Regions from separate parts of the Homo sapiens genome. Here regions 1, 2, 3 and 4 are each linked to region 5. Evidence: promoter capture Hi-C in 16 types of primary human blood cells and fetal thymus (Javierre and others, 2016). All regions are on one chromosome and are shown on one strand. Each heading gives the region's core, a stretch centred on a gene start or on the middle of the fragment in contact. The rest is flanking DNA. Distances are from core to core; before and after follow the strand shown.

Region 1 (5,454 bases), core at 73-2,572, 200 kb before region 5:
CACTCAGCCTCACTTCTCATCCTTCTCTCTGCCCAGGGCCAGCGCAGGCTCTTTCAGGGAGAGGAAAGGCAGGCCTGAATCTCTGTCCTTCTGCGCCCCAGATTCAGTCCTCAGAGAGGAGGAGAAGGAAGCCGGTGGAGGTCACAGGTGCTCAGCCCCCAGCCCAAGCAGAAGAGCCCCCAGCTTGTCCTCTGTCCCTCTCCCTCCCTGGCAGGGGCTCCCATGCAGTCCCCAGGCACCACCACGACCCAGCTGGCCTCTTCCTGCCCCAGGCCCTCTCTCGGTGCAGGCACCACGACCTTGCTCAAGGGGTGAGGGGGCTAATGGTCCCCTACACAGAGACTGGTCCTTCTGGAAGCCACCCCTTGACCCCCAAGACATGAGACTGGGTCTGCAGGCTCCCCTCTGACGTCCCGCCCTACACAGGAGGGGACAGGGCTCTGAGAAGCCCTGCCCCAGGCCACGTGACTTGCAGTAGTGGGTACAGGACTGGAGCCCCCTCAACCCAGATGTCTGGGCCTGGCTGAAGGGTGGAATCTCTGGGCCTCAACTTCTGAGTGCAGGACAGGAGGCTGTCCCTTCATACAGCCCCTCAGGTCATTCCCTCCACACACCTGAGCCCTTGGCTGATCCAGAAGCTTCCTTGGACACAGAAGAAAGTGAAGGCTCAGAGCAACACCCACCCCACACACAGTCCTGGGCCCATCTCTAACGGGGATCTGCCGGCCTTTGCCCGGGGGTGGTCACTGGAGCAGGGAGCTTTGGTGGTGCACAGGGCTCCCTCCGTAGGAGGCTCTGCCCACCCTCTCCAGGGTGAGGTGGCATCAGTTGAGGGGCCGTGGGGGAAGACAGGATTTCATCAGAGGAAGTGACATCAGCCTTCTTGAGACAGAAGCAGGCAGGGACGGGCCTCCCTTCTCTTAGTCTCTTCCCTGGTCCTAGTAGGCTCCTCTGTGCTTCCCAGGGCCAGCCAGGCCGGCCCGCCCTCCCTCCCTTTACAGGCCTGAGGAAACAGGTTCCCCATGCTCAGGAAACCCCTCCGTCTGAGCCAGGCCCTAAACACCTCATTCTCTGCTTCACAACATTCTGAGGTGACACATTATCTCCATTCAACCCACAGGGAAACTGAGGGACGGGGGCTTTGGGCTGAACTGGTCACAGCTGGAAAGATGGGCTGCAGAGAGGACAAGGGACCCCCTGGCTGTCTGGGCAGGGCCTCGAGAGGGTGGCCCGCCCCACCTGAGGACCTGGCTGAAAGGTCACCTGCTTACCAGGCTGTCCAATGTGGGGGCCACATAGAACTTATAGCCAACAGCCTCTGGGTAGCTCTGGAGGGCACATGCTGCCCAATGCTGCCACGTGCAGTCTCCTTAGATGCAACATGCATGTTTATGTCACTTTCAGGCCCTGGATCCAGCTGAACCCCCATGGGAGATTCCTTCTGTGTCAGGATTTCTGCTCTGGGATGGTGTGAGGTCTCCTGGATTTGTTCATCCTCCCTCCCCCAACAGCAGTGACAGAACCTGGGACTGAGCCTGGGGCTGTGGCTCTCTCACAGACAGGGCTTCTGAGAGGAGGAGGAGGGCCTGGAGGAGGGCATGATTCCAATGTGGGCAGAGCCTAAATGCAGCCCCTTAGTGCAGGTGCTCATGGGAGAGGCGTGGGAAGTCGTGTGTGGGGAGCAGGGGCAGGGAGGGGGTAAGTACCCTGCACCGCATTATGAGAACCACTGCTTGGATGTCCCCACATTCCCCCAACAAGTATCCTACTGTCCTCACTGGCCACATCCGTCCCTGCCCCCAGCCCCTCACCTCTCCTTGGCACCCACCGTTCCTGCTTTCCTCTGATCCCAATCGACATCCCATAGGCTTTGTGGAGTTCACAAGCCAACTGTAATATTCTCACAGTAATTCAAAGGACCTAGAATAGCCAAAAGGCCTTTACAAATGAAGAATGAAGGTGGAAGATTTATAATACCTGACTTCAAGACTTGCTGTAAAGCTTCTGTAATCAGGCTGTACTGTCCTCAAGGTACTAGAGTGTCCACAGACTGGAGTGTAGGGACGCGATCACCATCACTCCTGGGCTGAAGCAATTTGCTGACCTCAGCCTCCCAAGTAGTGAAGACCACAGGCACACACCACCACACACGGCTAATTTTTTTTTTTTTTTGAGAGATGGGGTCTCACTATGTTGTCTAGGCTGGTCTCAAGTTCCTGGGCTTAAGCAATCCTCCTGCCTCGGCCTCCCTCAGTGCTGGGATGACAGGTGTGAGCCACCTCACCAAGCCCCACTGGATTGCTGATATTCTGGCATCTTGGACCTCCAAGAGCAGAGAGAGGGACTGCCCCTGCCAGAGCCAGCCAGTTGTTAGAGCTAGCAAATGACCCCTCTGAGAGTGTCCCTTTTTTTTTCTGAAACAGTCTCACTCTGCTGCCAGGCTGGAGTGCAGTGGCACGGTCTCGGCTCACTGCAACCTCCACCCCTGGGTTCAAGCGATTCTCCTGCCTCAGCCTCCCAAGTTGCTGGGATTACAAGTGCGTGCCACCATGCCCAACTAATTTTTGTATTTTTAATAGAGACGGGGTTTCACCACGTTGGCCAAGATGGTCTCCATCTCCTGACCTTGTGATCTGCCCACCTCGGCCTCCCAAAGTGCTGGGATTACAGGCTTGAGCCACGGCTCCTGGCTGAGTGTGCCTTTCATATGCAAACCAGCTAATCCAGGGCCCCAACACTGAACCAGCTCTTCTAGCTGCCTCTCACCCTTCAGAAGGCAGTATTTCTCTGCCTTCATCATCCTGGGCCAGACACCAAATAACAAATGACAGCCTCTAATCCCCAGAGCCTGCTAACGTTATTCTAACTAGCCAATCCTAAACCTGCATACCCTTCCTTGCCTTTTCCAGGGAAAGCATAACAAAGGGTCTCACCCCTGTGTTCCCTTGGCTTCCTCTACTCCCTGAGGGACCCTGGTGCTTTCCCAAGTGGCCCTGCATGGCTGTGTCTCTCGTTTCTGGGGATCTGTGAGGATACACTGCTTCCCTTATGACCCTCATTTCCATGGCCATACCTGATGGAAAGAAATGGCAGGTGCATTTTGTTTTATTATTATTATTATTTTGAGACGGAGTCTCACTCTGTCGCCCAGGCTGCAGTGCAGTGGCACCATCTCGGCTCACTGCAACCTCTGCCTCCCAGGTTCAAGCGATTCTCCTGCCTCAGCCTCCCGAGTAACTGGGACTACAGGTGCCCACCACTATGCTCACCTAATTTTTGTAGTTTTAGCAGAGATGGGGTTTCACCATGTTGGCCAGGCTGGTCTTGAACTCCTTACCTCAGGTGATCCACCTGCCTAGGCCTCCCAAAGTTGCTGAGATTACAGGCATGAACCACCGCGCCCTGCCAGCAGGTGCATTTGATTTATTTTTATTTTTTGAGACGGAGTCTCGCTCTGTCACCCAGGCTGGAGTGCAATGGTACAATCTCGGCTCACTGCAACTTCCACTTCCTGAGTTCAAGTGATTCTCCTGCCTCAGCCTCCTGAGTAGCTGGGATTACAGGCACGTGCCACCATGCCCGCCCGGCTACTTTTTGTATTTTTAGTAGAGATGGAGCTTTGCTATGTTGTTCAGGCTGGTCTCGACCTCCTGACCTTGTGATCTGCCTGCCTCAGCCTCCCAAAGTGCTGGGATTACAGGTGTGAGACACTGTGCCTGGCCCAGCAGGCGCATTTTAAAAGAGCTTTTAACTCTCTGGACAATCCCAGGAGGTAGGCAGCATCTCTGTATGGTCCTCAATTTATACAGAAAGAAACGGAGGCCCTGAGGGTGGTTCTGAGCCTAGCCTGAGGTCACATGGCCCAGGAACGTCCACTGTGGCATCAGGTCTGAGCTTGGGGCCTGTGCGGCCAACCACTTCCCCATTCAGTGACATCAGCCAGCAGTCCTCTGGGCCTCTGTGACAACCATGCTTCCCTTTTCTGTGTTGTCTTCCTTCTGCACAGGGAGGTGCTTGAGGGCTGGGGCACTGGCTGGTGTAGCTTTGGGTCCTTGTCACCCAGTGCAGTGTGCCTGTCACCCAGGGCAGTTAGTGCTGACCAAATGCGTATGGAGAGGGTGGAGGCATCTTCAAGGGGTGGGGATCAGGTGACGATCATTTTCAGTAGAGATGGGGTTTCACCGTATTGGCCAGGTTTTTTGTTTTGTCTTTTTTTTTTGAGACAGGCTCTCTCTCTGTCACCCAGGCTGGAGTACAGTGGTGCAATCACAACTCACTGCAGCCTCAGTTGCCACCTGAGGGCTCAATTGATTCTCCCACCTCAGCCTCAAAATGTGCTGGGATTACAGTCATGAGCCACTGTGCCTGGCCCAATCATGCCTTTATAATGAAGCCCATAAAAACCCAAAAGGGATGCAGAGGGCTTCTGGATAACTGAACTCATGGAGCTTCCTAGAGGGTGCAGTGCCTAGAGAAGACACGGAAGCTTTGCACCCCTTCCCCCAGGCCTCCCTCTGTGTATCTCTTATATCTGGCTGTTCATAACTATCCTTTGTAATATCCTATATCTTTATTTTGAGACGGGGTCTCGCTATGTTGCCCAGGTTGGTCTCAAACTCCTGTGCTCAAGTGAACCTCCCCCCTCAACCTCCTGAAGCACAGAGATTACAGGCATGAGCCATGGCGCCAGGCCCTATAATATCCTTTATAAGGGGACACATGTAAGTAAAGGGCTTCCCTGAGTTCTAGGTACCATTCTAGAAAATTAATTGAACCCAAGGAGGGGATCATGGGAACCTCAATTTTTATAGCCCTGTGTCAGAAGCACAGGCACCACGTGAGCTTGCGACTGGCATCTGATGCTGGGGCAGCCTTGTGGAACTGAGCCCTCAACCCGTGCGATCACAGGAAGCAGCCAATTTGCTGTAGTAGCCGTGGCCAACACACTGTCTCTGACAGTGTTCTTGCCCCTGCCCACTCCTTCTTAACGATTCCCTCTCAGCCAGGCATGGTGGCTCACGCCTGTAATTGCAGCTATTTGGGAGACTGAGGCTGGAGGATTGCTTGAGCCCAGGAGTTTGAGACCAGCCTGGACAACTTGGTGAAACTCCAGTACCACTAAAAAATACAAACATTAGCTGAGTGTGGGGGTGCACGCCTGTAATCCCAACTACTTGGGAGGCTGAGGCATGAGAATGGCTTGAACCCAGGAGGCAGAGGTTGCAGTGAGCAGAGATTGCGCCACTGCACTCCAGCCTGGGTGATGAGAGTGAGGCTCTGTCTCAAAAAAAAAAAAAAAAAAAAAAAAAGATTTCCCTTCTTAAACTTGCTTCCAACTGCTTTAAATCTGTGAGTGCCATCTGTTTCTAGTGGGGAGGCTCCCTGCATCATGACTGGACTCAGGTACTGCAGAGCAGGAAGGGGCACTTGGCAGCCATGTGGGAGATGCACAGG
Region 2 (5,361 bases), core at 1,276-3,775, 190 kb after region 5:
TCGGTCTCTTGGCTTGGCACCTGGATGGCTTGCCGCCCACATCTCCCCCCTTTTTATTAACTAGGATCGCCATCGCCATCATTGCTTGTCGTTGACTTCGGATTTGTTTTCGGACTCCTTGGAGGCATCTGCAGGCTAAAAGGAGACAACGTAAGCATACCAATATTAATAATGCCAGTGACAACAATGATCCTCCAAGGGGTTTGATCTATTTAAAGGGATTAAGATCAGATAATTGTTTAGTTATGCCTTCAAAAATGTCTGAGCCAGGAACAGTGGATAAATGAGCTTGTGAATCCTCGAAAATTTGCTCTTTAAGTTTTGAAATATCCAAGGTTAAGTTATCATCCCAGGCTTTTAAATGTCTTGAGACATTTTCCCAGCTATGTTGATATTTATTATAAGCATAAGGCATTATGCAATAATCAGAAGTATTCCAATCACTCTGTAATTGCATACGGTGTTCCAAATTCATATCTCCCAGCCAGATTACACTTTGGCGGAGATCATTAATTTGATTAGCTAATTTTTGATCAATTTGAGCCTGAGAATTCCAAAGTCTGGAGGAGTTTTTCTGCCATGCTTCAATTCAACATATTGAACGGTTTGAACAGAATTGTGGATGGCAACTCCAGCAGTTGCTGCTGTTGCAGTAACCGCAATTAGTCCTGCAATGATGGCAATAAGAGTAAAAATAAATCTCTTTGTTCTTTTGCGGATACCTTTAAGAACTTCATTGACTATGTGAATAGAGGGGGAAGACTCCCATGGACGATGTAAAGAAACTGGTATCCATACCCCCTCCCTAGCCCTTACCAAGAGAGTACTTGTAGTGGGATTAAAAGTAGCATCAATGCACGTGAACAGCTTACAGTTATCACATTCTATAGTTTGTGTATTGGGAATGATAATTATATTTCCAACCAACAGCATGTAAGGGGGTTTGACATAGCTCCTGATGGGTATCACCCGTTCAGATATGAGGGTGATGTTGAATGTGGGTGTTTTGGTATTAGTGTGAAGGAGTTGATAGGTAGTGTTCCATATCCTTATTCCTGTCATAGCTGCAGCTAATTTTCATAGTTGAGGATGTTCTGGGGTAACAAAGGGATGAATCATTTTTGGTCTAGGAGGAGTAATGCCTGCATCCATCCATTTAAATAGGTAAGGGGACACCCATTGTCTCAGCCTGTATGACTGCCATCCATCCTCTACATAATCTAACAAATAATTAAACTCTGAGCATGAGGTATTTTTGCTGGAGCAATCTTGCCAATAATGCCCTTTTGGAGCCCAATCAATAACAATACCTGCGGCTAGACTTTGGAGCACAACGGCCTTAGGAGCATTACAATTATTCCATAAAATTGAAGTCACTATAAAAGGTCCCTTTGTAGGTTTCTTTAACCAAAAGAGAGGCTGGGCACAGTTGCTCACACTAGTAAACCCAGCACTTTGGGAGACCGAGGCGGGCAGATCACGAGGTCAGGAGTTCAAAACCAGCTTGGCCAACATGGTGAAACCCCTGCCTCAGCTTCCTGAGTGCTGGGATTATAGGCATGTGCCACCACGCGCAGCTAATTCTTGTATTTTTTCAGTAGAGACGAGGTTTCATCATGTTGCCCAGGCTGGTCTCGAGTACCTGACCTCAACCTGAGGTGATCCAACCACCTCAGCCTCCCAAAGTGCTGGGATTACAAGCATGAGTCACCGCACCCGGGCCCCAGTCACTTTAGAATAGCATGTTGCTTTGTATTCGGAGGGTCTCTCTGCAAATAGCCCATCAACACTGAGCGTGCCTGGAAAGACCTGGTTTTCAAATAACTGGCTTCGTCTGTGTAAAACGAGTCTTGTTGTATGCATTAAAAATTATCTTGGCTGGGCGTGGTGGCTCACGCCTTTAATCCCAGCATTTTGGGAGGCTCGTTCTGTTGCCAGGGAGGCTGCAAAAGGAGGATGCGGCTATTTCTGCTTCCATCATGGAAGGCTGGGATTCCACAGGCACAGAAAGGAAGGAGGGAGAGATGGGAATGTGACTGTCCTCCAGACACAGCCTCTGGCAGGATCGGATGTGGGAGAGTGAGGGTCCCACCCCAGCTGGGGTCTACCCAGGTCCATGTCTTGGACATGTTGAGAGTTTTTCTGGAAGGCAGGGATACAGTGTGGTCCAAAAACACACAAATGCCCCTACTGGCCCAGGGGTTGTCACAATAGACTGGAAGGGTGACACATCCCAGGCGCTTGCCACCCATCACACGCACCTCCTACCCACTGGCATCCTTCCACCCCAGGCACACACAAAGCCTCAGTCCAGAGATCAACTCTGGACTCAGCTCTGAATTTGCATATCCTGTGTGTAGATTCATTCTTCATAACCTCTGCCCAGCCTAGCTTGTGTATCATTTTTTTTTCTCTATTAGGGGAGGAGCCCGTCCTGGCACTCCCATTGGCCTGTAGATTCACCTCCCCTGGGCAGGGCCCCAGGACCCAGGATAATATCTGTGCCTCCTGCCCAGAACCCTCCAAGCAGACACAATGGTAAGAATGGTGCCTGTCCTGCTGTCTCTGCTGCTGCTTCTGGGTCCTGCTGTCCCCCAGGAGAACCAAGATGGTGAGTGGGGAAAGCAAGGGATGGGTGCTGGAGAGGACTGGAAGGAGGTGAGGAACAGGACATGTGGCTGGGAGACAGGCTGGATGCAGCTGGGATACCCTGGCATACGGCAGGAATGGGTGCCCAAGGCTGTCAACTCCCTCAGCTCACACACTTCCAGGAGCATTCAGGGAGCCTCTGCGCTGGCCCGAAATAAGACCTTCAGGAATCTGAATCTAAAACCCCTAGTTTACAGTGAAAACAAAGACTCCAAAGACCAAGCGACCTGCTTGGGGTAGACAGTCAGGACGGAGTAGGAACCATATGCCTGGAGCTGCTTCTGCTCCTGTTCCTTCCCTCCTTCCGATGGCTGGGTACACCTGCCTGACGCTGAGGGAAAGAGAGAGCAGCCCCAAGGGGAAAGTGGGAAGGCAGGTTGGCTGGAGGGATGGTGCTAGAAGGAAACCCGTGCCCAAATCCCACACTCAGACACCACTGCAGTGGGTCTGGAAGGCGAGTGGCTGGAAGAGAAGAGAGTGGGAGCTCCGGGAGATCAAGAGTCACTCCTAGGATAAGGGAAGGAGGCTGTTTGTGGCATGAGAATGTGCAGGATAAAGACATGGAAGCGAATGGCTTCTCAGTTGTGTGAGTTTAAAATTCATGACATTTACAAATTGTCAGAAAAGGTGTTATATGTTTGTTATATAACAATCACTTTGGAATGTTAATCTGATTCTGTGCCAAAATCTGAATTACTCAGGGTTCTCCAGAGAAACAGAACTAATAGGTGGTACACATATACATATATATGTACGTACACATACATACATACACTGTATACACATGGATACACACACACATAGGAAGAGATTTACATATATGTATACAAAAGAGAGAGAGAGTAGAGATTTATTTTAAGAAATTGACTCACACTATTGGGAGGAGTAACAAGTCCTAAATCTTCAGAGCCGGCCAGCAGGCTGGAGACCCAGGGAAGAGTTGATGTCTTAGTCTTGATTCCAAGGGCAGACTGTAGGCAGAATTCTTTCCTCTTTAGGGGACATCTGAGGCTTTTTCTCTTAAGGCCTTCAACTGATTGGATGAAGCCCACCACTATGGAGAGTAATCCACTTTACTCAAGGTCTACTGATTTTTTTGTAAATTAAAAAAAAAACTGTGGGTGCATAGTATGTGTATATATTTATGGGGTACATGAGAGGTTTTGATTCAGGCATGCAATGTGAAATAATCACATCATCAAAAATGAGGTATCCATCCCTTCAAGCTTTTATCGTTTGTGTTACAGACAATCCAATTATACTTTTTTGGTTATTTTAGTTTTTAAAAGTATTTGATTATTTATTTATTTATTTATTTTTGAGACAGAGTCTCACTCTGTCACCCAGGCAGGAGTGCAGTGGCATGATCTCGGCTCACTGCAACCTCCGCCTCCCAGGTTCAAGCAATTTTCCTGCCTCAGTCTCCTGAGTAGCTAGGACTACAGGCACCTGCCACCACACCTGGCTAATTTTTTTGTATTTTTAGTAGAGACGGGTTTCATCATGTTGGCCAGGCTAGTCTTGATATCCTGACCTCGTGATCTGCCCGCCTTGGTCTCCCAAAGTGCCGGGATTACAGGTGTCAGCAACTGCGCCTGGCCTCTCTTTTGGTTATTTAAAAGTGTACAATTAAATTATGATTATTATTATTATTTTTGAGATGGATTCTTGTTCTGTCACCCAGGCTGGAGTGCAGTGGCGTGATCTTGGCTTACTGCAAACCTCCGCCTGTTGGGTTCAAGCAATTATCTTGCCTCGGGTGTACACTGCCACACACGGCTAACTTATGTATTTTTAATAGAGATAGGGTTTCACCATGTTGGCTAGACTGGTCTTGACCTCTTGACCTCAAGTGATCCACTCACTTCAGCCTCCCAGAGTGCTGGAATTACAGGCACGAGCCACCACACCTGGCCCCAGTTAAATTATTATTGACTATAGTCACCCTGTTGTGCTATCAAATAGTAGGTCTTATTCATTCTTCTTTTTTTTTTTTTTTTTGTGACAGAGTTGCCCAGGCTGGAATGCAGTGGTGCAATCTTGGCTCACTGCAACCTCTGCCTCCCGGGCTTAAGCGATTCTCCTGCCTCAGCCTTCTGAGTCGCTGGGACTACAGGTGTGTGCCACCACGCCCGGCTAATTTATGTATTTTTAGTAGAGATGGGGTTTCACCATGTTGGCCAGGCTGGTTTCGAACTCCTGACCTCAAGTGACCCACCTGCCTCAGCTTCCCAAAGTGTTGGAATTACAGGCATGAGCCACCACACCTGGCCCCAGTTAAATTATTATTCACTGGAGTCACTTTGTTGTGCTATCAAATAGTTTTCTAACTATTTTTTTTGTACCCATTAACCACCCTCCCAATTTCCCCCCAACCCTGCCACTACCCTTCCCAGCCTTTGGTAACCATCCTTCTACTCTCTATGTCCATGAATTCAATTGTAGGGTCTACTGATTTAAAGGCTAATCACATTTAGACACTCAGGAGCAAGAATAATTTTAGTAATTGAACTAGGATTCTGCCATATGACCTCCAACATCATTAGCACCTGTGTAAATTGTATCATAAAATAATTATGGAACTATTATGGAAATGTCCCTCTCTCCCAGATCCCACCTTGTACCAAAATGCAAGGTACAACCCCGGGAATTCTGAGCTCCATCCTAGTCTTACCCTGTGCTAATTCAGTCTGGGTCATTTCTTGAATTTTC
Region 3 (5,613 bases), core at 1,276-3,775, 240 kb before region 5:
TTGAGGCTGGGCATGGTGGCTCACCCCTGTAATCCCAGCACTTTGGCAGGCTGAGGAGGGTGGATCACTTGAGCCCAGGAGTTCAAGACCAGCCTGGGCAACATGGGGAAACCCTGCCTCTGTCAATAAATACAAAAAATTTTCTGGGTGTGGTGGTGCATGCCTGTAGTCTCAGCTACTTGGGAGGCTGAAGTGGGAGGATCACTGGAACCTGGGAAGTGGAGGCTGCAGTGACCCGAGATTGCGCCACCGCACTTGAGCCTGGGCAACAGAGCGAGACTGTGTTTCAAAAAAAAAAAAAAAGTAATTGCGAAAGTGATCCTTATATGTGATATTTTGAAAAGACCCAAATGCACGTCAACTTTTCTGAGGGATGATTCTGGAGGGATGGGATTAGGAGCCATCCTTTATGATCAGGTATTTAAGGTAAAATTTGGCAGTGGGAGAGAGTGAACTTACTGGAGAAATATGTTGGTTGATAAATAAATAGTGAATATATAGCGATACCTATGTGTCTGTTATGTGATTTTTCTCTGTCAACTCAATTGCTTGAGTGTAGGCTCAGAAAAGGTGGAGAGGGTTCATTCTGGTTGGTGTTTTGCCACCTGGGTGGGAAGAACGACAGTGGGAAAGGGAGCTGAAGGTGTCTACAAGAGAATCCAAGTAAATGTCAAGTAATCAAACCAGAGTGGAACAGAGTGAAGAATGAAAGTTGCTTCCAGATGGAGAGGATGGTAGTGGGCAGTGGGTTGGAGAGCTAGATAAAATGAAAGTTGCTATAGGAGTCTTTGAGCAAGTGAGGTGGAAGACGGGGCATTTTTGTAGATAGGATGTTTGGATGAGTGGCTCAGAGGGTGTGCAGTTCCTGCAGATGACTGGGTGGGGCATGCAGGAGTGGGAGTGGGTTCCAGAGGTGACATGAAGAAAAAAGTCAAGGGACTGAAATAATGGGGTGCTGTATGAGGAGTTCCTGTGGATGTAGAGGTCATTTGGAATGAAGGCAGGAGGTGGAGAGAAGACTGAATCAGATACCAGCATCTCTACAAGGGAGATGAGAGGTGAGGATAGTCCCATGGCATAGACCTCAAGGGAGGAAGTTTTTATAAGAGTTGGAGAGTAGTAGCAATGGGGCAATGATAATGCCAGCCTGACTTTCTGTCCCAAGAGACATGGGGAGTGTGAGAGGAACTGACTGCACTTACAGGGTTGTAGGTGGGGGTGGTTTAGGTGGGGCAGTGTCATTAGTGGGTCTCCAGGCTTCAGAAAGGAGATAGAAGTTCAGATTTGAGGTTGAGGATATGTGGACTTTTGTTGCTCGAGTCAATGGACTTTCCAAGACCACAATGGAAGAGTTTTGGTGGGAGAGAGGAGAGGCTGAGGGACATGGGTCAGCTTAGGAGAGGTGGGGGTCTGGAAGGTAATGGATAAAAGGAAGGCTTGGCCTTTGAGCAGGGCCCAGAGTTAATAGTTGATGGAGAAGTGATAGGCTTAGACCTGTGTCTTTTGGAGAAGAGTGAACTCAGACACTGTTGGTCCTAAAGTTTGCAACTTGGTGATTTGGTGACAGGTAAATCAGTTGAGATTTGGATAAGAACTCTGGATGTTGTGCACAAAAGAGATGCAGGTTAGCCCTTCAAAAGAACTTTTCAGTAGTGTCATGCCAGCAGAGAACAAGGCACTATCTGGAAAGATGCCAGGCAACCTTTCAATTTAAGAACTGTCAATACAAGAAACATTCCTTTCAGCCTTGGGGCAGGGAGACATGGTAGCCTAGTACAGGAAAAAGATCAAGGCATGAGACTTGAGTTCTAAGTTCAGCTCTATCGCCAAGTTAGCTAATCCTCAGCAAGCCAGTTACCTCTTTGAGCCTTGGTTTCCCTCTTATAAGTCAGGGATCGGGCTGGTTGATCTCTAATGTCTCTCTGGCTATGTCATTCTGGGAGTTGGGAGGGTTATCCTGATTTTAGTTGGATTAAAGAAGGAAGAGCATATTTTTAAGTCTCTTATTTCATTTTTTTCCTCTCACAGGTCAATGTCTGGTCTGGGTCCAGTGTTCCTTCCCAAACTGTGGGAAATGGAGGCGGCTGTGTGGGAACATTGACCCCTCAGTTCTCCCAGATAATTGGTCCTGTGATCAGAACACAGGTAGAAAAGACTGGAAATGTTTTCATTCATGTTTTATTGTTCCTCCCTTTCTTTCTCTGCACTTATCCTTTAGATTAAATACTACGTAAATATAGTTAGCACTCAGTGTCCTTGTAGTGCTTGGGAGAGAGGAAGGATCTGCCTCTCATATGGAGATGAATCTGGGCAGAAAAGGCTGGAGGAAGATGCCCTGTAAAGTGATCTTGTTGGGGAGGGGCCTGGAATCTAAATACATGAGCATTGGTCTGCCCCTGTCAATCCTGATTAAAATATTGGTATTGGGTTGGTGGATAGGGAGGGATATAGGATATATCGGGGAAAACAGACGAGAGAGATCTGGTGCGCTTAGAATTCTAGGCTGTTTGGAACTAGTTGGAAGAGATGATGATGATCTTGTCCAGCCCAATTATTTTACAGATGAGAAAACAGAGTCTCAGAGAAATTATTCTTATGGTGCTCCATAGACAGGAGCACAGTCAGACACGCGGGCATGCAAGCAGGAGTGTGGAATCTCTTCCTGGAGTATGAGGAGGCACCATTCCTACTGCCTCCAGCTGCATTTCAGCTGGTTCCAGCTGCATTTCAGCTGGTTCCAGCTGCATTTCCTCCATGGGTCTTTATTCTTCCTCTGTGCTGATCTCCCAGGTGCCCCTTTGGTCCCACCTGCTGCATATACCAATTTCCTTCTTGTTCTCTCCCCAGCTCTCATCCAGCTCTTTCTCTTAAAGAGTCTCTTCCTGTCCCTTCATTCCTTCTCTCTTTCAGCAGATGTGCAGTATAATCGCTGTGATATTCCTGAGGAGACCTGGACAGGGCTTGAGAGTGATGTGGCCTATGCCTCCTACATCCCAGGATCCATCATCTGGGCCAAGCAATACGGTTACCCCTGGTAGGGCATTATGACACAGTCAGAGCATCCTTCACAAACTTGGGAGAGGTAGATTCAAGCAGGGGTGGAAGCAAATGGAAAACATCTGTAATTGAAATGGTTCTGGCCTTAGAAAGAGCATGGGGTGAGAGAAAAGATAAAGTACCAAGCCTGGAGGCTTTGAAAGAGTGTATTTTCTGGAGGTTTCAGCATGGAGGTGATAGCTCCCTGGAAAAAAGGGTCTGATAGTGCTACCCCAACTGGTAGAAAGAAGAGGGTGGATCTGAGGCATTTAAAAATATTGAGATTGGCCAGGCGCAGTGGCTCACACCTGTAATCCCAGCACTTTGGGAGGCCAAGGCGGGCAGATCACCTGAGACCACAAGTTTGAGACCAGCCTGGCCAACATGGTGAAATCCCATCCCTACTAAAAATAGAAAAATTAGCCAGACGTGGTGGCGCGTGCCTGTAGTCCCAGCTACTCAGGACGCTGAGGCAGAAGAATCACTTGAATCCGGGAGGCAGAGGTTGCAGTGAACCAAGATTGCACCACTGCACTCCAGTCTGGGCGACAGAGTGAGTCCCCATCTCAAAAATAAATAAAAATATTGAGATTGAGAGAGACAAAGTAAAGGGAACAAGGAAAAGTGGGATAGTTTCTTCTTTGGAGATGTCTCTAGTCGAAGATTTTGTTCTTAGGATTGTGGATGGCTCAGAAGGGTAAGATACCTTCACTAGGTATATTCTGAGCTCCTGTGTGCATCGATGGAAGTCACTTTCTCACGAGTCATTCAGTAGTGACCACTAGAGGGGGATGATGGAAGGGGAATCTATTTTTTGGATCCTTTTTTTGCAAAGCATACTGCTGGCTGAGCGCAGTGACTCACGCTTGTAATCCCAGCACTTTGGGAGGTTGAGGTAGGAGGATTGCTTGAACCCAGGAGTTTGAGATCAGTCCTGGCTATATAGTGAGACCCCATCTCTGCAAAAAATAAAATAAACAGCTGGGTGTGGTGGCATGTGCCTGTAGTCCCAGCTCCTCAGGAGGCTGAGGTGGGAGGATCACTTGCGCCTGACAGATCAAAGCTGCAGTGAGCCATGGTTGTAACACTGCACTCCAGCCTGGGTGACAGAGTGAGACCTTGTCTCAGAAAAAAAATCATACTGCTCTTCTCTGTGCATGTACATTGATGAGGTTGTGTTCTGTTCATCTAACCCCTTCTCTTCTGTCCCCTACACCCAACTATCTTCTCCAGGTGGCCAGGCATGATAGAATCTGATCCTGACTTAGGGGAATATTTTCTTTTTACTTCCCATCTTGATTCCCTGCCGGTGAGTTTCCTGGTTCAGGGTAAGAAGGAGCTCAGGCCAAAGTAATGAACAAATCCATCCTCACAGACGTACAGATAAGAGACATGGACATAGCCAGCAGACACAAGTGAAAACAGACACTTAACTAGGATGACAAACACAGAGATAAGTGCTCACACATATAATAGAAACAAACTTGTATCTAATTAAATATTTATCCACTGTCAGGGCATTAGTGGTTTTGATAAATACGCTTTGGCTAGGATTCCTGAGGTTAGAATGGAAGAACAATTGCAACGAGGGTAGGGTAGATGAGTCAGGCTTTGAAAGGAGTATGTGAGGCCCAGCACCTCCTTCTGGGTGAATTCCCATTCTCCCGATCTGTTCTGGCTAGAGGAGAAAAGCAGGGAGCAGGACAGGAGTCCGTAACAGGATCATCTTTTATTTCAGTCTAAGTACCATGTGACGTTTTTTGGAGAAACAGTTTCTCGTGCATGGATCCCAGTCAACATGCTAAAGAACTTCCAGGAGCTGTCCCTGGAGCTATCAGTCATGGTGAGCACATCTTGGGGTTCTGTTGTGATACAGAGAAAACAAAATCTTCCTTTTCTTAAACCTCATTTTCTCCCAGGGTAAGCCATGTCGGGAGAAAGTTCTGTGTCTGACCAGGTGTGCCAAGGGTGAGGTAATTCATGAAGGACTCTTCTTGCTCCCAGGACTGCAGCAGGGCAATTTTTTTTTTCAGTCCCCTTCCCTGCCTACAGATTGGGGGCCATTCTGAAGATGAGGTTTTTTCTACAGTTTAGCCAAAGCAGGTGTGGCAGAAATGAGGGCACAGATTAACTCAGGATTTCTCAGTCTCAGCACTATTGGCATTTCGGGCGAGATAATTTTTGGTTGTGGAGGGCTGTCCTGTGCATCGTGGGATGTTTAGCAACATCCCCAGGCTCCAGCGGCATCTAACCAGCAGCAGCCCCCACCTCCACCCTGCCCATGGTTGTGACAACCAAAAAATTATCTCCAGCCATTGCCAGGTGCCTTCTGGGGGGCACAGTCTACCCGGTTGAGAACCATTGGGTTAGCACCATCATATTTCCTCCCTGTAGTCACTTTGGGTTTGACCAGCCTTGCAATTGAGCAGAGGCTCAATGGCTCAGGGGCCTTAGAAAATCAAGCAATGAGTATTAAATCAAACAGCTGGATCTAAAGGAACTTGTCAGAAGCTTCAAAGTGAAATCACCTGGGCTCCTATAATCCTGTTTTCAAATTTCCATGGGATTCACTTTGGA
Region 4 (5,494 bases), core at 2,899-5,398, 180 kb after region 5:
ATCACTTGAGCCCTGGAGTCAGAGGCTGCAGTGAGCTTTGCTTGCACCATTGCACTCCAGCCTGGGAAACACAGTGAGACCCCATCTCAAAAAGGAAAAAAAAGGAAAGAAGAGAGGGAAGGAGAGAGGGAGGAAGGACAGAGGGAGGGAGGAGGGAGAGAGGGAAGGAAGGAAGAGAGGAAGGAAGAAAGGAAGGAAGGAAAGAAGGAAGGAAGGAAGGAAGAAGGAATCGAATTCAGCGGCTCACCTGTGGAAGAGGAAATCCATTTACAATGCATCCAGGCCTGAGTTTCAGCTGAGGGGTTGGAGCATGGCTGATTATCATCCTGGCTTCCCCCAGAGACCAAGGAAACTGAGGCCTGGAGCAAGTTCTTGCTTGCTCAGGGTCTCACAGTGATCCGGGTCAGAAGCCAGGACTTGTGGGACCACGATTTGTGCCCTTTGCACTGCCTGGACTGCCTCTCATCATAAATGAATACGGATAAAATTCGTTATGCTTTCAAAGTGGTAGGAAACACATGACAGATCAAAGCAGACAAAATAGTGTGCAAGACTTTTGAGAAGACGCCTCACACTCGTCGGGATGGCTACAGTTTAAATATCCCTTATCTGAAATGCTTGGGACCGGAAATGTTTCAGATTTCAGAATTTTTTTTTGACTTTGGAATATTTGCTTTACTGGTTGAGCAGCCCTAATCCCAAAATCCTAAGTCTGAAATGCTCTAATGAGCATTTTCTCTAAGTGCCATGATGGCCCTCAAGTTCTGGTTTTGTAACTTTTGGAGCTCAGATATTTGGATTAGGGATACTCTCCCTGTACTAAAAACAAACAAACAAACAAACACAAAAAACCACCACCACCACCAACAAAACAAAACAAAATAGCAGGTGTTTGGTGAGGATGTGGACAAATTGGAATCTTTGTGCATTGCTGGTGGGAACATAACATGGTGCAGCCCCCGTGAGAAATAGTACAGCGCTTCTTCAATAAAATTAAAAATAGAATTGGCTGGTGTGGTGGCTCCCGCCTGTAATCCCAGCACTTTGGGAGGTGAAGGCAGGCGGATCATTTGAGATCAGGAGTTCCAGACCAGCCTGACCAACATGGCAAAACCCTGTCTCTACTAAAAATACAAAAAAAAATCAGCTGGGCGTGGTGGCTCACGCCTGTAATCCCAGCTACTCGGGAGGCTGAGGCAGGACAGTTGCTTGAACCTGTGAGGGGGAGGTTGCAGTGAGCAAAGATGGTGCCACTGCACTCCAGCCTGGGCGACAGAGCTAGATTCTGTCAAAATGAAATGAAATGAAATGAAATAAAATAAAATAAAATAATCTCTGAAGGCTAAAGAGAGAAATTGGGTCAGCTGAAGAGTTTACAGATTTGCAGAGAATAGAGGCAAGGAAGCTTTGTGAACTACTTTTAGGTTGTGAAACTTGGTCTTGATTCAGCCCCCACATGGTCTTCATATACAAAGCTTCTTTGCAGAGGAAGCTCTTTGGAGAAAGATAACTGGTGAGATAGAAAGCACAGCCAAGAGATAACAAGGGAGACTTCTCTGGAGAATTTTGTGGATGAAGAGGAAAAACAAATCCATAAGGTCATGGGGATAATGAGTTATTTGAAATCAGAAAGAGTGATTAACATGGAGGCGGGGCGCAGTGGCTCATGCCTGTAATCCCAGCGCTTTGGGAGGCTGAGGCAGGCGGATTGCCTGAGGTCAGAAGTTCGAGACCAGTCTGGCCAACATGGTGAAACCCCATCTCTACTAAAAATACAAAAAAATTAGCCGGGCGTGGTGGTGTGCACCTGTAATCTCAGCTACTCGGGAGGCTGAGACAGGGGAATTGCTTGAACCAGGGAGGTGGAGGTTGCAGTGAGCCGAGATTTCGCCACTACACTCCAGCCTGGGCAACAGGGCGAGACTCCATCTCAAAAAAAAAAAAAAAAAAAAAAAAAAAGCAAACCAAACCAAAGCACACAAACAAATAAACAAACAAAAAACATAAGGCAATTCTCTACAGGTGTTTTACTGCTAGAAGATCATGCTCCTCATTTCCTAAAGACTCACAGAGAACAGAAGACTGGTTGCATGAGAAGTGAATAACAAGAGGTTATAGTGCTTATTTGGGTTGGGGGCAAACATGACATTTCAATATTAACTTGTTTATTTATTTATTTTTCGGTTATACATCATTGCTGGTATATGTACTTTATTTTATTTTTTAGAGATGGGGGGTCTCGCTATGTTGACCAGGCTGGTCTCGAACTCCTGGCATCAAGCCATCCACCCATCTTGGCCTCCCAAAGTGTTGGTATTACAGGTGTGAGCCGCTGTGCCCAGGCTAACTCGTTTTTTTTCTTTGGTCCAGCAAGGCTTGTGAATGTGTCTGGGAACGACGTAAAATCTGGCTTGAAAAAAAAACTCTCAACTCAAAGCTCCAAGACAGAGCTGAGATGCTTTTGAAGGAGACAGCCTCATTGGTCTCCTTGTCGGAGAGGCCCCAACTTATCAGTAAATATTGGTTAACATCTATCATCTGGTGGGACTAAGCATGGAACCAATTGCCCTTGCACAGAAGGCCACGTATTGTAGTATTCAACATAGATGGAATGACCAGGAAAGGCAAAACCACAGATATAAAAAGTAGATTAAGGCCAGGCGCGGTGGCTCACCCCTGTAATCCTAGCACGTTGGGAGGCCAAGATGGGCGGATCACCCACCAGCCTGGTCTATATGGTGAAACCCCGTCTCTACTAAAAATACAAAAATTAGCCGGGCATGTTGGTGCGCGCCTGTAATCCCAGCTACTCGGCAGACTGAGGCAGGAGAATCGCTTGAACCCAGGAGGCGGGAGGCGGAGGTTACAGTGAGCCGAGATGGCACCACTGCACTCCAGCCTGGCGACGGAGCAAGAAAAAAAAAATAAATAAAAAATTGCTAAGATTGTTATTAAATCCGCTGGGAGAGTCTTTCATCATGTTAGCAGGATCATTGTGTCCTCTGGTGGCAATAACACGCGACTGCAACTGACTTGCCTGTGCAGAAAAATCTTTCCTGAATCCTGAAAGCTGCATTCTGTTCTATTAGCTTAAGAAGGAAATCTGACACTGATCCGCACGGTGTGTTTTATGATCCTGCACATAAAGATTAGGTGCTCAAGGATGCAGAGGAGCCCACTGCTCCCAGAGCAGGTGCCTGAGCCTAGGAGGCATCTGACCAGAGTCTCTGTCGCCCAAGCTGGAGTGCAGTGGTGCGATCTCGGCTCACTGCAACCTCTGCCTCCAGGGTTCAAGCGATTCTCCTGTCTCAGCCTCCCAAGTAGTTGGGATTATAGGCACGCACCACCATGCATGCCTGTAATTTTTTGTATTTTTAGTAGAGACGGGGTTTCACCATGTTGGCCAGACTGGTCTCAGACACTTGACCTCAGGTGATCTGCCCGCCTCGACCCCCAGAGGGCTGATATTACAGCGTGAGCCACCGTGCCTGGCCGAACGACAGGATTTCAAGCCTGAACTCGAGAGGTAGCCCAGACTGGGGATCTGCACTGGGAAGTCATCCGCAAGGACGTGGTGGCTGGAGCTATAGACAAAGGGAAAGTTATCCAGGGAGAGTGAGGGTGTGGAATGGGGAGAGAGAGGGCCCGCAACACAGTCCTAAGGAACACCAGCACTTTTTTTTTTTTTTTTTTTTTTTGAGACGGAGTCACCCAGGCTGGAGTGCAGTGGCATGATCTCGGCTCTTTGCAACCTCCACCTCCCAGGTTCAAGCAATTCTCCTGCCTCAGCCTCTCAAGTAGCTGGGATTACAGACGCCCACCACCATGCCCAGAATTTTTGTAGTTTTAGTAGACACGGGTTTCACCATGTTGGCCTGGCTGGTCTTGAACTCCTGACCTCAAGTGATCCACCTGCCTAGGCCTCCCAAAATGCTGGGATTACAGGCATGAGCCACCGTGTCTGGCCCAGTTATCGCTTTCTGAGAGAGGAGTTTCTCCAAAGTTTTCAGTTTGACATAATCAATATAACCATCCTGCGTATTAGGGGATGGCTGGTTCTTCACTCCTTCAGCATCTTTGGTTAACCGGTACCTCGACTTGGCCATATCCACAGGTGGGGGAGGTCAGGAGATGTCACCCCTAGTCACTGGGGCTGTGGGGAACATGGTCTCTGAAATGGAACAAGGCTGACCAGGCCGATGGATGGCTCACAGTGTCTGCTGGAGGTTCCTTTTGCTGCTCAGGGCCAGGGCGTGGCTGGAGGAAGAGGCCCCACCCAGGAAGTTCCGCAGGGGCTTACACAGTCTTCCCAGACCCAGAAGCACAATCTCCAAAAGAGTGAACAAGAGACGGAACCCACTGACCCCAAACATGGCTTTTAGAAAGATGATCTTCTCCGAGGGGTGGGAAAAGGTGCAAGTTAATCTATACGGGCAAGGCTCTTGGCCACATGCAAAGGAGCTGGGCATCTGGAACCCATACAGGTGGTACTGCAACCCCGGCGCTGTCCCCTCCAGGACCAGCTGAGCTCCCAGCTGAGCCACATAAGCTCAGAGCAGCCTGAGGCTTCCAGCCCCTGGGGTATCTCTGCTGCTCTCCCCTCCCTGGATCAGGGTGTCCTCTTCCTCCGTCCCCTTTCATGATTCTTCCCAGTGCCAGATCACGTGATACAGAGTGAAACCCATGTAGAGGACGCTAGGTACAGCCACCAAGATGACCTGGAAGACCCAGAAACGCAGCGGGGAGAGCGGGTGGAAGGCATCGAAGCAGGCAGCCTTGCAGCCCGGCTGCTGGGTGTGACACACGAATTCACTCTGCTCATCGCCATAGACTCCAGGCCCACTGGCAGCCAGCAGCACAAGGCGGAATCCCAGGAGCACGGGAAACAGGAGGCGCCCCACGGGGGTGGAGTGCCAGCTCTCCTCCGCCAGCAGCCACCACCTCAGGAACCTGCCACACATCCTGTTAGGGAGTTTTAAAAAAAGATTATTACACGTTATTGATTTTTTGTTTTTAAAGACCTCTGTTGCCCAGGCTGGAGTACAATGGTGTGATCATAGCTCACTGCAGCTTCCAACTGTTGGGCTCAAGCAATCGTCCTGCCTCGGCTTCCTGAGTAGCTGGGACTACAGGTGCATGACACCACGCCCAGCTAAGTTTTAATGTTTTTATAGATATGGGGTCTTGCTATGTTTCCCAGTCTGGTCTCAAACTCCTGACTTCAAGCAATCCTCCTGCCTCGGCCTCCCAAAGTGCTGGGATTACAGGTGTGAACCATTGCACCAGGTTATGAGTGATTTATTTTTTATTTTTTGAGACAGAGTCTTGCTCTGTCGCCTAGGGTGTAGTGTAGTGTCGCGATCTCTGCTCACTGCAACCTCTGCCTCCCGGCTTCAAGAGATTTTCCTGCCTCAGCCTTCTGAGTAGCTGGGATTATAGGCGTGCACCACCACAGCTGGCTAATTTTGTGTATTTTTAGTAGAGATGGGGTTTC
Region 5 (5,348 bases), core at 173-2,672:
CATTTGGTAATGGGAGGGGGGCCTGGGGGTATTTATTTAGGAGGGAGTGTGGTTTCCTTAGAAGGTATAGTCTCTAGCCCTCTAAGGCTGGGGCTGGTGATCAGCCCCAACAGAGAAAATGAGGAGTTTAGAGTTGCAGCTGGGGAAGGGGTTTGAAGGAAGTTGGAAGTGGGGAGGGGTGGGGGCATCTGGTCTCAGAAATGGACCAGCTGGATGCAGGGCAGGGGACTGAGGGTGCTTGAGTAGGATGTGAGACTTCATGGGCCTGGGTTCTGTTGAGTTTTTTCAGTATCAATTTCTTAAACCAAATTTTAAAAAAAACAAGGTGGGGGGGTGCTCATCTCGTGACCTCTGCCACCCACATCCTTCACAAACTCCATGTTTCAGTGTTTGAGTCCATGTTTATTCTGCAAATAAATGGTAATGTATTGGACCCCATGTGTGGCTTCTGTGCTGTCACCATCAGTGCCTGAGCCCTGGCTCCTAGCAGAGGTCTCAGAGCCTCTGTGACTGGCTCATTTTCTGCCGGCTTTTCACTTCCCTTGGCACCTGTCCCCCAGGAGGCGGGCCTAGACAATAACCTCTGATCTCCAAATTGCCCACCCTCTGGGCCTCTGAGCATCTTCGTTTGTACAACAGGGAGAATTGTGGGGACCAAATAGAATCTGTGTGAAAAAGCACCTTGTCACCTGCAAAATGCTCTTTGAACATGAGGCTTTTTTTTTTTTTTTTTTGAGATAGAGTCTCGCTGTTGTCGCGAGGCTGGAGTGCAATGGCGCGATCTCAGTTCACTGCAACCTCCGCCTCCCCAGTTCAAATGATTCTCCTGCCTCAGCCTCCTGAGTAGCTGGGATTACAGGCGCCTGCCACCACAGTCAGCTAATTTTTGTATTTTTAGTAGAGACGGGGTTTCACCATGTTGGCCAGGCTGATCGCAAACTCCTGACCTCAAGCGATCCACCAGCCTTAGCCTCCCAAAGTGCTGGGATTACAGGCGTGAGCCACCGCACCCGGCCACGAAGCATTATTAAGGTGACCACACCACTGCCCCCTGCCTTCAGGATGGGAGGCCTTGTTCTCTGAGTGTCAGTCTCTGGCTACCTTGCCACGTCCTTGACAATGTCTGCTTTCAAATATCACTTTCTCCTTCCTTCCTTCTTTCTTTCCACCGCCTGAATGAATCTTTTGTTCTGCGGCAAGCCAAGAGAAAATGGTAGGATTGATTCCCAAGTGTGAAAGCGGGGGCGGAAGTGGTGTCTTCCAAGAGGAGTCTGGGTGCCCTGCCGAAGAGGGGAAGATGCAGCGAGGGAGAGACCTAGAACCGCGATCAAAGCTGCAGCAGCTGCTGGGGCTGGCGGCACAAAGGGAGGAGGGAGGAGCCTGGGCGCTGAGAAAGTTCTTGGGGAAAGTTGAGCTGAGCCAAGAGTCGGGCGGTGGCTGGGATGGGCGGGAGGGCCCGGCCCGATTTCCCTTGCTGCTCCCCTTGTGGCCTGGTGAGTGGGAAGTGAAACCAAGGATAGGACCAGTGGAGGGACCCTCTAATTTATGGGAGGAGACATGAGGGGTTCATGGAACCCCAGCGGGGGCAACTGGGCAGTCACCAAAGCTGGAGGGGACAGAGGGCTGGGATCTCCAATCATGGGAAGGGAGAGATGGATGGAAGGAAATGAAGAACTCTGGATAGGGGAGACGCGGCTAGACCCCAGGGGCTGTGATCAGGGAGGGAATTGGGGAGTGATGCCAGAGAGGGCAGGTCTCCGGGAGTAAAAGTGTGGCTTCTCTCTGCTTGGGGTTACCCCTGGCTCATCGGAGCAGGGAGCTGTCGGGGCTTGTTGGAGGGGCCGTGGTCCCTGATCGCGAGTTGTAATCTGAAGGGGCGGGGCTGGACTCCCGGTTGATTAGGAAGCTCGGGCTTCAGAAGGAACTCTGCAGTTAGTGTTTGCGCCTTTCTCCTTATCTTTGTGTCATAGTCTCTCTGTCCCTCTGTCTCTCTCTCTCTGTTTCTCTGTGTGTGTGTGTGTGTGTGTGTGTGTCTCTCTCTCTTTCTGTCTCCCTCTCCAGCCCCACCCTTTCAGTCTCCTCCGGGTGCACTGATAAGGTTGGAAAGTGGAATGGTGGGTAAGTCCAGGGATCTGGGCTTTATAAGTAGCCACACGTCTCCCCCAGCCCCTGTCATACATGGGGGTCTGCCCCGTGCTGAGACAGAGAAAAAAGAGGCGCGGGAATTTATAACCCAATGGCTCTTACCCATTGCAATGCCACTCCTGGAAGTCCAACCTCCCTTCCTCCTGCCTGGGTTCATACACCTGTGTCCTGTCTGATCCTCATTCCCACTGTATGGCTTCCCTTCCTGGTCCTGGGATAGGGCTCTTTATCCCCATCTGTGACAGCCAGAGGGGCTCTGGAGGAAACCAGGTTCCCGACCATGGTCTGACCTGACTGTGTTAATGAGCTGATTGATCTGATCTCTCTCTCTCTTGCTGGCTGTTTCATTCACGAGCTGGGGCTTTTTCTCTCCTTCCCTTATAAATCCCCAAGGCTCAGGGACAACTGTAGGTGGGGAGCGGGAGGAACTGGAGATAAGAAAGTGATAGAGCAGAGACAGTAGTTGTGGGGCCACCTAGGAGAGTCTGGGTATAGACAACATCCCCAGCCACTCCCCTTCCCTGAAGGAGGTCTCAGCTGCAGCAGGAGAGAAGGCTGCCTCTGCCTCTCTCCTTAGACTTCCCTTCTTCCCCCCTCATTTCCCTTCTAGACGCTGACAGAGGCAAAAATCTGCTAACTCAGGGGGCAGACTCAACCAAGACTGTGAGCAGGCCTGGGGAATGACCCCCCGATCTCCAACCAGTGCCTTCCGCAGCTGCACGGCTGTCTCCAGCTGTCTCTGCCCCTCTTCCTGGCCCTGGCTCCATCTCTCTGTCACCTCACCCTTCCCTGTGCCACATGGGCCCTCTCTCTCCTGCCAGGACGCTGCGGCTCTGGGGACCTCGGAGCCTGGGGGTGGCTCTGGGAGTCTTCATGACCATTGGCTTTGCACTCCAGCTCTTGGGAGGGCCCTTCCAGAGGAGGTGAGTTCCCACTTTGCCCCAACTCCTTCTAGACGCCCCGTACTTGCTCTTCCCCATCCCACCTGGGGCTGGTGACTCCTGAGGACTCAGAAGCCTCCATGCCCTCTGTCCCTTCTACCCATTTGCTGCTGAGGAACAGGACACTCCCCCTCCATCTCTTCCCAGGCTACCTGGGCTACAGCTCCGACAGCCCTCGGCCCCATCCCTACGACCAGCCCTTCCGTCCTGCCCACCCCGGCAGCGACTGGTGTTCCTGAAGACACATAAATCCGGGAGCAGCTCTGTGCTGAGCCTGCTTCACCGCTATGGGGACCAGCACGGGCTGCGCTTCGCCCTCCCTGCCCGCTACCAGTTTGGCTACCCAAAGCTCTTCCAGGCCTCTAGGGTAAAAGGCTACCGCCCACAGGGTGGAGGCACCCAGCTCCCCTTCCACATCCTCTGTCACCACATGAGGTTCAACCTGAAAGAGGTAAGGAGTGTCGCAGTGGTGGGAGGGACCAGAAACAGATGGGCTCAGGCTGACACCACCAAGGGAGGGGGCCCAGACCTGGGGGCTCCCCAGGCATCATCTCACCCTAAAGTTGGACATAGGGGCCACAAAGTTGGGCTCCCTGCCATCCTCTCTACAGGTGTCCCTTCCCCAGTAGTTTCTGGGAGCCCAAGTCCTCCTCCCTTCTCTCTCTGGCGCTTACTCCAGTCTCTCTCTTTCACCAATGTATTTCCCTGGCATCAGTGCCTTGCCAACTCTGAGCCCCCAACTCTCCCTCCAGGTGCCCCTTACTCTTCTGTTTTTAAATTATTTTTTGGAAGACAGGGTCTTACTCTGTCGCCCAGGCTGGAGTGCAGTGGCACAATCATAGCTCACTGCAGCCTTGACTTCCCAGGCTCAAGTGATCCTCCCACCTCAGCCTCCTGAGTAGCTATGGCTAAGGCATGTGCCACTACACGTGGCTACTTTTTAATTTTTTGTAGAGATGGGGTCTTGCTATGTTGCCCAGGCTGATCTCAAACCCCTGGGCTTAAATAAATAAATAAATAGTCCTGGGCTCAAGTGATCTGCTCACCTTGACCTCCCAAAGGGTTGGGATTACAGGAGTGAGCTTGCCCAGCCTGTGTGTGTGTGTGTGTGTGTGTGTGTGTGTGTGTGTGTGAGACAGGGTCTCATTCTGTCATCCAGGCTGGAATGCAGTGGTACAATTATAGCTCACTGTAACCTCAAACTCCTGGGCTCAAGCGATCCTCTCACCTCAGCCTCCCAACTAGCTGGGACTACAGGTGCATGCCACCACACCTGGCTATTTTTTTATTTTATTTTTTGTAGAGATGGAGTCTCACTATGTTGCCCAGGCTGGCCTCAAATGATCCTCCCACCTCAGCCTGGCAAGTACCTAGGACAACACGCCCCTTCCCTTTCTTAGCCTCCCTTTCACTGTCACACCAGGGCCCCACCTCCCCCACTGCCTTCTGACTTGTCTTCTTCAACCCCCTCACATTTTGAGGATCAGCTGTATTTTTAGCCCGGGACTAAGCCCAGCACTTTGGGAGACCAAGGTGGGCAGATCACCTGAGGTCAGAAGTTCGAGACCAGCCTGGCCAACATGGTGAAACCCTGTCTCTACTAAAAATACAAAAATTAGCCAGGCGTGGTGGCACACGCCTGTAATCCCAGCTACTCGGGAGGCTGAGGCAGGAGAATTGCTTGAACCCAGGAGGCAGAGGTTGCAGTGAGCCGAGATTGTGCCACTGCACTCCAGCCTGGGCAACAGAGCGAGACTCCATTTCACAAAAGAAAAAAAAGGCCGGGCGCAGTGGCTCACGCCTGTAATCCCAGCACTTTGGGAGGCCAAGGCGGGTGGATCACAAGGTCAGGAGATCGAGACCATCCTGGCTAACACAGTGAAACCCCGTTTCTACTAAAAATACAAAAAATTAGCCGGGCATGGTGGTGGGTGCCCGTAGTCCCAGCTACTCAGGAGGCTGAGGCAGGAAAATGGCATGAACCTGGGAGGCGGAGCTTGCAGTGAGCTGAGATCGTGCCACTGCACTCCAGCCTGGGTGACACAGTGAGACTCTGTCTCAAAAAAAAAAAAAAAAGGAAAGAAAGATAAATAAATAAAATTGAAAATTAAAGTGGCAGAGCTGGAAGTTGAGCCCAGGTCCATGCACTCCAAAGTCGAGGCTTCTTCCGAGGCTTGTGCATGTGTTTGTATCTGGAATGGTGAGAAGAATATTCACCAAAGAGGTGATGCTTTCTGGAGAGGGGGGTTTATTTTACTTTAT

Evidence for each region. The method cuts DNA at HindIII sites, captures the fragments that hold promoters and counts their contacts. A CHiCAGO score of 5 or more calls a contact.
Region 1: a contact is called between a fragment that was not itself captured here and the fragment with the promoter of GAL3ST4 in region 5, in 14 of 17 cell types (total B cells, naive B cells, activated CD4 T cells and 11 more). The highest score is 13.7, in total B cells.
Region 2: the fragment with the promoter of AZGP1 here is called in contact with the fragment with the promoter of GAL3ST4 in region 5 in 13 of 17 cell types (neutrophils, total CD4 T cells, naive CD8 T cells and 10 more); the score reaches 14.9 in neutrophils.
Region 3: a fragment that was not itself captured here is called in contact with the fragment with the promoter of GAL3ST4 in region 5 in 13 of 17 cell types (naive B cells, activated CD4 T cells, total B cells and 10 more); the score reaches 13.2 in naive B cells.
Region 4: a fragment that was not itself captured here is called in contact with the fragment with the promoter of GAL3ST4 in region 5 in 2 of 17 cell types (naive CD4 T cells and naive CD8 T cells); the score reaches 6.0 in naive CD4 T cells.

Annotation. Positions count from the first base shown.
Region 1 is chr7:100,367,836-100,373,289 of GRCh38, reverse strand. It overlaps a transcript of PILRA not described here. Among named protein-coding and RNA genes, the nearest start is that of PILRA, 2.9 kb to the left of the region's middle. RefSeq lists an enhancer at 2,135-2,886. The HindIII fragment of the contact is 1,363 bases long and covers 641-2,003 here.
Region 2 is chr7:99,973,195-99,978,555 of GRCh38, reverse strand. AZGP1 (alpha-2-glycoprotein 1, zinc-binding) reads left to right here and starts at 2,525. Exons shown (of 4, transcript NM_001185.4): 1 at 2,525-2,611. The coding sequence starts at 2,536. The HindIII fragment of the contact is 13,516 bases long and covers 1-3,877 here.
Region 3 is chr7:100,405,960-100,411,572 of GRCh38, reverse strand. It overlaps ZCWPW1 (zinc finger CW-type and PWWP domain containing 1), which reads left to right. Exons shown (of 18, transcript NM_001386010.1): 9 at 2,029-2,145; 10 at 2,914-3,034; 11 at 4,270-4,345; 12 at 4,775-4,879. Among named protein-coding and RNA genes, the nearest start is that of ZCWPW1, 20 kb to the left of the region's middle. The HindIII fragment of the contact is 6,048 bases long and covers 1-5,549 here.
Region 4 is chr7:99,991,864-99,997,357 of GRCh38, reverse strand. It overlaps LOC105375423 (a long non-coding RNA gene), which reads right to left and starts at 283. Exons shown (of 3, transcript NR_159960.1): 1 at 248-283. It also overlaps the pseudogene LOC100128334. RefSeq lists an enhancer at 2,781-3,282. The HindIII fragment of the contact is 5,341 bases long and covers 1,478-5,494 here.
Region 5 is chr7:100,164,691-100,170,038 of GRCh38, reverse strand. GAL3ST4 (galactose-3-O-sulfotransferase 4) reads left to right here and starts at 1,422. Exons shown (of 4, transcript NM_024637.5): 1 at 1,422-1,493; 2 at 2,756-3,068; 3 at 3,234-3,537. The coding sequence starts at 2,944. GPC2 (glypican 2) reads left to right here. Exons shown (of 10, transcript NM_152742.3): 10 at 1-433. The HindIII fragment of the contact is 24,826 bases long and covers 1-5,348 here.